Linked DNA regions of Homo sapiens: all the other regions are linked to region 1. The links are contacts of gene promoters, found by promoter capture Hi-C in blood cells and fetal thymus (Javierre and others, 2016). All regions are on one chromosome and are shown on one strand. Each heading gives the region's core, a stretch centred on a gene start or on the middle of the fragment in contact. The rest is flanking DNA. Distances are from core to core; before and after follow the strand shown. Region 1 holds the start of FOXK2 (forkhead box K2). Region 2 holds the start of CCDC57 (coiled-coil domain containing 57). Region 3 holds the start of DUS1L (dihydrouridine synthase 1 like).

Region 1 (3,535 bases), core at 401-2,900:
GCCAAGATGGTGAAACCCCGTCTCTACTAAAAATACAAAAAATTAGCCGGGCGCGGTGGCAGGCGCCTGTAATCCCAGCTACTCGGGAGGCTGGGGCAGGAGAACCACTTGAACTCAAAGGGCGGAGATTGCAGTGAGCCAAGATCGCGCCACTACACTCCAGCCTGAGCGACAAAGTGAGCCTCCGTCTCAAAAAACAAAAAACAAAAAAATTCCAGTTTGTGTGGACAAAGGCTGTACTTGCAATGATCTAGAAGTGAGCCCCTGAGGAATAATTAGCATTTCCTAGACAGCAAGTTTGTGTTTCAAGCAGAGTAAACGATAACTTCATAAAACCACAGGACCAAGCTAAATTGTTTTGTAGCAGGATAGGCAGTTCCCTATCAGGCTGACTTAACACTCTACATGACCTTGTAATAATTCCTAATCAACTGTCTTTTTGTAGAAGTTATGCGAAAAGCATCTAGTTTTCCCTAAATTTTAAGGTTCAGAGCACAGATTGAAAATCCATCATGCTTGAAGCGTCTTCCAATTTGGCCTACTGAAAACACGGCAGGGAAAAAGGAGTCCTTCCTGCTTAAAACACCGCACTCTTGAAACAGCTCACTACTGAAAACGACTGAACAACAACAACAACAAAAGACAACAGACAACCCTTCATCGGTTAAGAGACATAGATTTTAGTTCGGGGCAGTTCCTCCCACCGCACACCGTTTTCACATTTCTGTTCAGCGCGACCTCGCTGCAGAATAGAAACAGCACACGTGAACTCCCCGCACGCACAGAACCCAGAAACCTTGACCCGCGCGCGCAGCCGCCCGCAGCCCCGGCTCCAGGAAGGGGGAAAGACGGGGGGCTGCACCTGCCAGGAAGGGGACCGGGAGGACGGGGGTCGGGGCCAGGGGCTGTCGAGGGTTGGGATCCAGCCGGGGCCTGGGTCCCGCTGGTGGTCCCGGCTGTGGGAGAGTCGGGCCCCCGCTCGTGGGTGGTCCCGGGCCTGGGCGCGTGTCCCGTCCCGTCCTGCCAGGCGCTGCAGGCCGCAGACCCCGCCCGCCCCGCCCCGAGGCCACTCACACGCGCGGCAGCTGCAGCGGCGGCGCCCCGCGCCTCTGGAACACGCCGTCCACGAATACCCCGTTCTTGCCCAAGCAGCGCAGGTAGAAGTCGCCGCCGGCGTCGGGCCTGGGCTGCGCGGGCGGCAGCTCCGGAGCGGCCCCGCCATGGCCGCCGCCGCCCGGGGGCGTGAAGATCTCGAGGTGGCGCCGGGAGATGAAGCTCGAGTGGCCCATGCTCACGTCCACCGAGCCCTGCGACGAGTTGCGGCCGATGGTCACCGAGCGCTTCTTCATCAGATACTCGAACTCGCGGCCCTCCAGGCGCGCCACGGCCCAGCCGCCCGGCGGGGACCCGCCGCCCCCGGCCCCGCCGCCCCCGGCCCCGCCGCCCGCGGGTGGCGTGCCCGCGCCCGAGAGCGCCGCCGCGGCCGCCGCCATGGGCCTGCGTGAGGGCCCCCGGGCCGCTCCGCGCGGGCGCCGGTGGCGCGGGCCGAGGCCCAGGCCGCGCGGGTCGTCGGCCGCCGCGCACCGGAGCTGAGGGAGGGGGCCGAGCGGAGGCCGCCGGCCGGCGAGCGAGCGAGCGGCGGCGAGGGGCGGGAGCACGCGCGGCCGCGCCACCGAGCCGGCACGCCGGGCCCGCCCCTCGCTGACGGACGGTTACGCCGGCCAATGGGGGCGGCGTACGGCAGTGGGGCTACCGAAGCAGGCCAATGGCAAGACACGTCGCACCAAGCTGCCGGCACGTCCGGCGGCGACGCCCGACGCAGTCCCGACTCCGGGCGCCGCGGAAAACCCGGGGCGGACAGTCGGCAGCCCGCGCGGGATCGGGGCTGGCGCGGGGTTGGCGCGGGCGCGGGAGCTCGGGGGTCTGAGCCCGGCCTGGCAGCGCCTTAGGCGCGGCGGGCGGGACCAGGCCCAAGGTCACAGCGGGCGCCAGGCACGCAGCGGCCCCCAACCCGGCGTGGACGCCGGGGTGCGGATAGGCGGCGGCCCGCGAGCCCAGGCCCGGCCGCCGAGCGGCCTTTTCCCCGCGAGGTGCGGGAATATCGCGGAGGGGCCGCGTGCCGCGTGGCCTCAGACCCAGGGGACCCGGTGACACGTTCGTTTTTAACCAGCAGCTCCAGGACTGGATGTCGTTATCTTTCCTGGCTAGCGAGTCATGTCATTGTGTCAAAACTGTCCTGCAAAATACGCAGAAGTTCTGAATCACATTTACTTAACTGTCGTCAGCACACAGTTTAAAAATATACACGAGGCCGGGCGCGGTGGCTCACGCCTGTAAGCCCAGCACTTTGGGAGGCCGAGGCGAGCGGATCACCTGAGGTCAGGAGTTCGAGACCAGCCTAGCCAACATGGTGAAATCCCAGCTCTACTAAAAATACAAAAAAAAAAAAAAAAATAGCCGGGTGTGGTGGTGCACACCTGTAGTCCTAGCTACTCAGGAGGCTGAGGCAGGAGAATTGCTTAAACCTGGGAGGCGGAGGCAGGAGAATTGCTTCAACCTGGGAGGTGGAGGTTGCAGTAAGCCGAGATCGCGTCACTGCACTTCAGTCTGGGCAACAAGAGTGAAACTACGTCTCATATGTATATATATGAACTATATATATGTGAACTATATATATATATATGAACTATATATATATGAACTATATATATATGAACTATATATATGAACTATATACATATATGAACTATATATATATGAACTATATATATATGAACTCTCATGAACGAATAGTTAATATCTTAACCAATCTGATACTAAGTTTTTAAAAAAAGAATTTCGCCACCGTTTAAAAAATTACAAGATCCCATCTAAATCAAGATGATCAATAGTCCAGATGTTCACTAATCAATGAAACTCCTAACATTAAAAAGAAAAAATCCTGTGGCCGGGCGCGGTGGCTCACACCTGTAATCCCAGTGCTTTGGGAAGCCGAGGCGGGTGGATCACAAGGTCAGGAGTTCAAGACCAGCCTGCCCAACATAGTAAAAGCCCGTCTCTACTAAAAATACAAAAATTAGCCAGGCATGGTGGGGCGTGCCTGCAGTCCCAGCTACTTGGGAGGCTGAGGCAGTAGAATCGCTCGAACCTGGGAGGCGGAGGTTGTGGTGAGCAGACATCACGCCACTGCCCTCCAGCCTGGGTGACAGAGGAGACTCCGTCTCAAAAAAAAAAAAAAAAAAAAAAATTGGGAAAAGAAAGAAAAAATCCTGTAAATGTATCTCACGGGTACTTAACCAGTTGTGGAGACGTTCAAGGTTCAGGATCATGAAAAGTCTACAACCTCTTAAACAGGAAGAATTCCGTGGGAAGTCAGTGTCAGCCCTAGAAACCATGGCTTGGGCTCCAAGCGCGCATCTTCGCAAAACTGAAATAGCAACAAATGGTACCAATTTAGTCTCTGCTGGGGAGGGACTGCCCCCTGAATTGTCTCACTTCTTTCAGCATGGTGGTTCCTGCAGGGTGTGTGAGGAGA
Region 2 (3,204 bases), core at 354-2,853, 310 kb after region 1:
ACCAAGCAAGTCCTGGCTCCTCTTCTGGGTGTCCCAGCCCGTCTCGGACACCCACGCTTACCCAGGCCTGGTGGCTGCATCGTGGACATGGGGGCAAGGCAGCTCTCTGGGTGGGCAGAGGCAGGAGCTGAGGCAAGGATGTGGGCATCCTTTTGGGTACATCTAGTCCTAGAGCTGATCCAGGGGCCAGTCAAATGTGCAGCCAAAGTCGGGTCAACCCCAGCACTGTCCTGTGGGTGGGGGTAGCAGGGAGCCAACAGTCCAGGCCCTACATCCTGTTCTAATAGAGTGACAAGTCTGATGAGGCTGGGGGTGCACAAGCACTGAGAAGGCAGCAGGACAGGGAGCCAAACACATGGGGTGGTGGGGGAAACCAGGGAGCTGGACACAGGGTGGGGGGGTCCTGGGAGTTGGACACATGGGCCAGGTTGGGGGTCCAGGGAGCTAGACACAGGGGGTGGGGAGGGGAGTCCAGGGGACTAGACACAGAGTGGGGGGTGGGTCCAGGGGGCTAGACACACAGTGTGGGGGGTGGGTCCAGGGAGCCGGACATACACATGGGGTGGGGAGGGGGCATCCAGGGAACCAAGTCTAGGCAGAGGCAACTGGCGCAAAGGACCTGAGGCAGAAGAGGGTTTGGTGTGTGAGGCGGGACTGAGGACTGTGGGCGAGGGAGACAGCTCTACCAGGACGCATGGTTCGGGGAGGACAGGCTGCAGGGTGCCTGGGCTGCAGGCACGGCACGGAGAGGAGTGATCCAGTGTTAACAATGTGGGTGGAGGATGACACCAGACCCCTGGCTTATTGCCCCACCAGGGGAATTCCCAGACACCAAACACCCCCTCCACTCCCACGCAGAATTGCGGGCTGAGGGTTCGGGTGAGCCAGGCTGCTCTGTCCCGGGGCCGGGCTCTGTTCATCCATCCGCAGATGGATACGGACACGTGCCTTTTTCTGAGGATGTGAATGGTTGGGAATGGCTGTGCCTGAGGATGTTGTTCCCACAGGATGGTGGGGGCGACTTCGGGCCTCGGTGGGTCCCGACCCCCCTCCTTCCCCCAGTTCCCTAATCAGGGTCTGAGCGACCGCGCGCACGGCCCCTGGGCCCCGCCGGTCTCCGAGCCCGTGGGCAGCGCCGGGAACTCGTGCCCCGGTGGCCGCAGCCGACCCTTAGGCAGGACTTCGTGGCGCCCCCGGCCCGAACAGACCCCCACGGGCAGCCTCGGCCGCCCCGTGCTCCCTTCATCTCAGGGCAAAAGCTCAAGTCAACCCTTCGGGACCGCGAGCCGGGCGGCCTCAGGAAGCGGGCGCCTGGGGACCCTCGGCCGGGCCGGGGGCGGCGAAGGTGGGGGCGCCTCGCGCGGCGGAACCCGCCGTCCCCATAGCCCGGAGCCCCGTCCGGAGTCGCCCCGCTGACCGGTGAGGAGGCCGGGCTCCCTCCTTCGATCTGCGGCGGTGGTCGGGTCGGCCGGGGCGCCCCTCGGACCCGGGCGCAGCGCGGAACCCGGCGGGGCGGGAGGGGCCGGAACCTAGCGCCAGGGACCCCGTTTCCTGTCGGCGGGACCCGAGCGCTGCACCGAGCGCAGCCGGACGCGGCCGACTGACCCGGTCGCTGTGGCAACGCGGCGGGACCTGGCCAGCGCTGCTGGCGGGCGTTAGGGTGAGGTGCGGGCGGGCGGCGTGGGAGGCGTGGGAGGCGTGGGGGGCGCCGCTCCGACCACTCTTCCTGTAGAAAACCCCAGCAGCTGCCGTCCTGTCGGACGCAGCGCTTTGGTGGGGACCTGGAGCGCGAGGTCGACCCTCAGAGCTCGGCCAGGCCCGGACCGGGGATCCCCTCGCGGAGGCTGCGGCGGGGCGGGGCGGGGGTTGCGGCCGCGTGGAGCGGGAGCGTTCCCTCGGTCTCCCGTGGGTGACCTGGGGCGGTGGGCGCTGCCGACCAGGGCCCCGCAGCCCCGGGAGAATTCCCCGGGTTCCGCCGCCGGCAAGGACGGCTCCGCGCCCAGGCAGCCTTACAGTGTCTGTGAGTTTAAAAAAAAAAAAAAAAAAAGAGAGGAAAAAAAAAGGCCGGAGGCGGTGGTTCGCGCCTGTAATCCAGCACTTTGGGAGGCAGAGGCGGGCAGATTGCTTGAGGCCCGGAGTTCGAGACCAGCCTGGCCAACATGGTGAAACCCCCTCTCTACTAAAAATACAAAAATTATTGGGCGTGGTGGTGCACGCCTGTAATCCCAGCTACTCCGGAGGCTGAAGCAGGAGAATCGCTTGAACCCGATGTTGTAACTGAGGGAGTTATAGAGAGAACGCCACACTCTGAGACTACTCAGGAGTCCTGTATTGCCAGCGACTGACAGACTGCTAGAGCTGCAAATTCCCTCGGCCCCGAAGAAGGGGCTAGATTTCTTTTGATACCTTGGTCTAAATAGAGGAGGGGAGGCTAGCTGAAGCGATTTTTTTACAGAAGCAGAATAGGCAAAAAGTTAAAAGATAAATGGTTACAGAAACAGTTACAGGAAAATAAACAGTTCCAGGTACAGGGGCTTAAATTATCACAAAGTGATAAACGCAGGGGCTTTGGGTACCATCAACCGAGCGCGTTCCCAGGAGCTGCTGGTACAGCTTGCTCCAGTTTCTTATCAGTATTTTATCAGTAAGCGCATTCCTGGATGTGCTTGGAGTCAGCTTGCCCCAGTTATGTCCTTAAGGGACGGGGACAAGGGGCTGCAAGCGAAGAAACCAAAATGGTGTCTGTCCGGCCCTCTCAGCTAAGAGAGAGTCAGTCAGGTTAAAACAAAGTAGGGTACCACACCGAGAGGCGCAGGTTGCGGAGAGCCAAGATCGCGCCATTGCACTCCAGTCTGGGAGACAAGAGCGAAACTCGGTCTCAAAAAAAAAAAAAATTATCTGTAACTTAGAAAAAGGATACAAAAGGAGCACAGATTTCCCGTGTGCCTTTTGCCCAGAGCCCCTAGAATGCTGACCTCTTAGAGAACCACAGTTCATTCAGCAACATGTAGACGCTGGCGTTCATGTTGGTATCATCCCATGATCTGGTCTCCAGTATTTATTCTTGCTTAGCAGCTACCTCATGGATGACTTTACCGTGGTCCAGGATCCAATGATGAGTCCACTATTTTATAAAATGCCCCCCAGTTCGGGGGCATTTCTCTGATGTTTTGTCATAATTGATTTCATATTACTGATTTTTGG
Region 3 (3,720 bases), core at 117-2,616, 450 kb after region 1:
AAATTAGCTGGGTGTGTTGGTGGGTGCCTGTAATCCCAGTTATTTGGGAAGCTGAGGGAGGAGAATCGCTTGAACCTGGGAGATGGAGGTTGCAGTGAGCCGAGATCACGCCACCGCACTCCAGCCTGGGTCAGAAAGCGACTCCGTCTCAAAAAAAAAAATTGGTTCAGTCTGGAAAGGCGGGACAATTTAAAGCAAAAGCCATCGGGGAGGGAGCTTCCTGGTCACAGATAGGTGATACACAAACGGTTACATTGTTTTGAGTTTCTGATTAGCCTTTTTTTTTTTTCTTTTCCTTTTTGATCAGTCTTGCTCTGTCGCCAGGCTGGAGTACAATGGCTTGATCTCGGCTCACTGCAACCTCCGCCTCCCAGGTTCAAGCGATTCTCCTGCCTCAGCCTCCCGAGTAGCTGGGACTACAGGGGCGCACCACCACACCTGGCTAATTTTGTATTTTCAGTAGAGACAGGGTTTCACCGTGTTGGCCAGGCTGGTCTCGAACTCCTGGTCTCAATGTGCGCCACCGCGCCCAGCCTTCTGATGAGCCTTTTCAAAGGAGTCAGTCAGATATCCATCTATCTCAGCGAGCAGAGGGTGACTCTGAATAGAGCGGGAGGCAGGTTTGCCCTGAGCAGCTTCCAGCCTGAGTTTTCCTTAGTGATTCCGGGGGCCCAAGAGATTTCACATGTTTTAGGTACTGAATGTCCTGGTTCAACTTCGGGCTTCGCTCTCAGATATGGAAAGCTCTGACAAAGCTGCTTTTTACATCTGTTGGGTCTCAAATGCCTTCAGTTTAAAATAACCTTCACATCCACTCTGGGGTTCCCAGTGGGTCCCCACAGCTCGAAATAACCCAAGGAGGGTCCACGGCGGGTAGGAAAGTCGATCGAAGGCTGGCGGCTGCGGAAACCCAGGGCGGGCAAGGAAGGTCCCTGGAGGGTGATTTTCCGCAACGCAGCGGCGGAAAGTGAGTGGCTTTCAGAGGCGGCAGGTGAGTGGGTTCGAGGCAGGGCTCTGGGGCCGCTTTAGGATATAACGGGATGAAGCCCCCAATGCGAACTTGGGGGCTGGGCAGCGCAGGGCCTCAGCGCCCACGGTCTACCCGCGGCCCGGGCCTTATGTGCGCCTCAGCGAGGCCCAATTTCCACATGCCTCGTTTCCAGCGAGCTGTCGGTGAGTCCCGGCGAGCCCCGACCCCTCTCTAGCCACGGCCTGACGGGTACGGTGGTGACCTCAGCCTCTGACCTCCGACCCCGCGCCGCGACCTCTCGTCGCCGGTCCCCTCGGAGCCGGGCGCGGTTTCCGGGGAACGCGTTTCCCGCCGCACCGTGGGCCGCCCGGACCGCGCAGGACCGGGCACCTTCCGGTGGCGGCGCGGAGCCTTGGGCCCGGCTGCGGCCCGGCGGCGGCCCCGGCGCGGTGCGGGCGTTCGCGGCGCCCCGGGAGCTGCAGGGGCCCCGGGCGGCGGCGAGGCCGGAGAGGGGCGGGCCCGGGACACCGGCACCCGGCGCCCTCGGAGCCAAAGGCGCGCGGCGGACACGGCGGGGCCCTCGCGCGGTGAGGACGCGGAGGCGTGTGGGCTCCTGTCACTTCACACAGCAAACGCTGCCCGCCGCGTGGCTCCGGAGGAGTCTCGCGAGGGGCGCCCCTGTGGCGTTTCGGGCCAGCCGGGCCGCCTGGCCGGGTGCGGAGAAGGAAGCTCTGCCCTTCCCCTGGCCCGGCGCGGAGCCGATTCTCCCGGGAAGGGGCCGGGGGTCCTAACTTCACCGCCGGGCGGCCTGCTCAGGGCCAGGCCCGCGGGGACGCTGGCGTCAAGGTTTCTTCCCCCTTCACGCCAGTCCCCTACCAGGCCGACATCGAGTCCCGCTCCCCAGGGAGGGTCAAGTCCCAGGGGTCCAGCGGCTCCCCCGAGGTCCGCTAGGAGGTGGCGGCACTGGAGTGGCCGTTCTCCAGCCTGCACCGACCCCCGCCTTTAGTGCCCCCGCGTGTGACCCAACGGTGGTACTGGAGCGGCCTTAGAAGGGTGACCGCTGCCTCTGAGTTGAGTCTTAAGCCCCTCGTTGGGCCTGGCTGAACCCCGGGTCTGCGCCTTTCCCCCAGCCTGGAGACGATGCCAAAGCTGCAGGGCTTCGAGTTCTGGAGCCGCACCCTGCGAGGGGCCCGCCACGTCGTGGCCCCCATGGTGGACCAGAGCGAGCTGGCCTGGAGGCTGCTGAGCCGGCGCCACGGGGCACAGCTCTGCTACACGCCCATGCTGCATGCCCAGGTCTTTGTCCGCGACGCCAACTACCGGAAGGAGAACCTGTACTGCGAGGTGTGCCCCGAGGACCGGCCCCTCATCGTGCAGGTGCGCAGGAGGGGCTGTGGCCGCGGCCGCGGTTGGGTTCCCGGTCCTGGAATGCCTGGGGAAAAACCCTTCTCTCTGTGGCGGGACATCACTTTCAGCCTTTCCAGAGACAGCTCAATTCCAGGAGGAGAGGGAGAAGGTGGCACCAGGCATGTAGAGTCCACGTAGCCACAGCAGTGATTCCTGTGGTGGAGCCAGGGCTGCCAGGTGCACCTGCCAGAATCCAACCCCATTCTCTAGGAGTGGCTCAGGCAGCCTGGGTGCTGTGAGGTTTGCAGCCCTGCTGGGGCCTCTGGATTGCTGCCTCTCACACTCACACTCCCTCTTCAGAACCAGTGGAGATGGCTCTGCTCTTCAGAAGTCAGTGATTGTGGCTTCTGCCACAGTTCAGAAGAAAATCTGTAAATCCGGGTGGCTTGGGGACTCCTCCCGGCTTTGTCATATTGTAAGCCTCCGCAGGACAGAGCACCCTCCTGCAGTGAACCTGGGCCCACACCCTCATGGGGTCACACTGGACCTCTCGTAGGGCTGGGCAGCAAGGGACTAGGGCCTGGCTGGGCCCGTGGCTGACTCCTGCATCTTCTCCAGTTCTGTGCCAATGACCCGGAGGTGTTTGTTCAGGCGGCTCTCCTGGCTCAGGATTACTGTGACGCCATTGACCTGAACTTGGGCTGCCCACAGATGATAGCCAAGAGAGGTGAGCTCCATGTGGAGCATGGGGGCACCTGGGGCAGGGGCCAGAGCCAGCTCAGTGCAGCCCCAGGTGTGGTGAGCTTGGAGGACGGCAGGCCCTGCCTCTGTCGTGACAGTGGCTCAGGCTGGAGCCAGCTGTCCTCTGTGCTCCGCCTCTGGAGGGTGGCTGTCCTCAGGCCTTGGGGGCTAGGGGCCGAGCCCTACTGGCTCTCTCTTCCCTCAGGGAGCTCCCTCTGCATAAACATGATTGCTGATACAGGGTCCCCATTACCCCCTTGCACTGCTGTGTGTGGGGCTGAGCCTGCTACCTCACCGGGCCCCTGAGGAGGTGTTACTTGGTTCCAGACCGTGCAGGGTGGGGGTTCCATTCAGCACCTTCTGAGCTTAGGCAGCTGGGCAAATAGAGCCCCTGAGTCTGATGCCGACAAACCACTGCTCTGACTGTCCCACTGCCCCAACTGGAGACACTGCTGGTTCTGGGGACCTGTGTCCCGCCTGACAGGGCAGCTCCTGGCCTGCGTGGATGCAGGAAAGGGTGCAGAGGGGGTGCAAGGCTTCGGCCCCACCAGCCTTAACACAGGTGCCAGCCAGGCCATGCTTGCTCCTTGCAGGTCACTATGGCGCCTTTCTGCAGGACGAGTGGGACCTGCTCCAAAGAATGAGTGAGTTGGCTGGGTGGA

The links. The method cuts DNA at HindIII sites, captures the fragments that hold promoters and counts their contacts. A CHiCAGO score of 5 or more calls a contact.
Region 2: a contact is called between the fragment with the promoter of CCDC57 here and the fragment with the promoter of FOXK2 in region 1, in 1 of 17 cell types (neutrophils). The highest score is 7.8, in neutrophils.
Region 3: a contact is called between the fragment with the promoter of DUS1L here and the fragment with the promoter of FOXK2 in region 1, in 1 of 17 cell types (neutrophils). The highest score is 5.4, in neutrophils.

Annotation. Positions count from the first base shown.
Region 1 is chr17:82,517,847-82,521,381 of GRCh38, reverse strand. FOXK2 (forkhead box K2) reads right to left here and starts at 1,650. Exons shown (of 9, transcript NM_004514.4): 1 at 1,075-1,650. The coding sequence starts at 1,493. RefSeq lists silencers at 811-860, 941-1,120, 1,571-2,230. The HindIII fragment of the contact is 16,273 bases long and covers 1-3,535 here.
Region 2 is chr17:82,211,241-82,214,444 of GRCh38, reverse strand. It overlaps CCDC57 (coiled-coil domain containing 57), which reads left to right and starts at 1,603. Exons shown (of 19, transcript NM_001394669.1): 1 at 1,603-1,660. RefSeq lists an enhancer at 250-1,192 and a silencer at 1,143-2,062. The HindIII fragment of the contact is 36,876 bases long and covers 1-3,204 here.
Region 3 is chr17:82,063,450-82,067,169 of GRCh38, reverse strand. It overlaps DUS1L (dihydrouridine synthase 1 like), which reads left to right and starts at 1,366. Exons shown (of 14, transcript NM_022156.5): 1 at 1,366-1,557; 2 at 2,101-2,347; 3 at 2,936-3,044; 4 at 3,652-3,702. The coding sequence starts at 2,111. RefSeq lists silencers at 1,295-1,354, 1,365-1,434, 1,725-1,774 and an enhancer at 1,998-2,726. The HindIII fragment of the contact is 12,631 bases long and covers 1-3,720 here.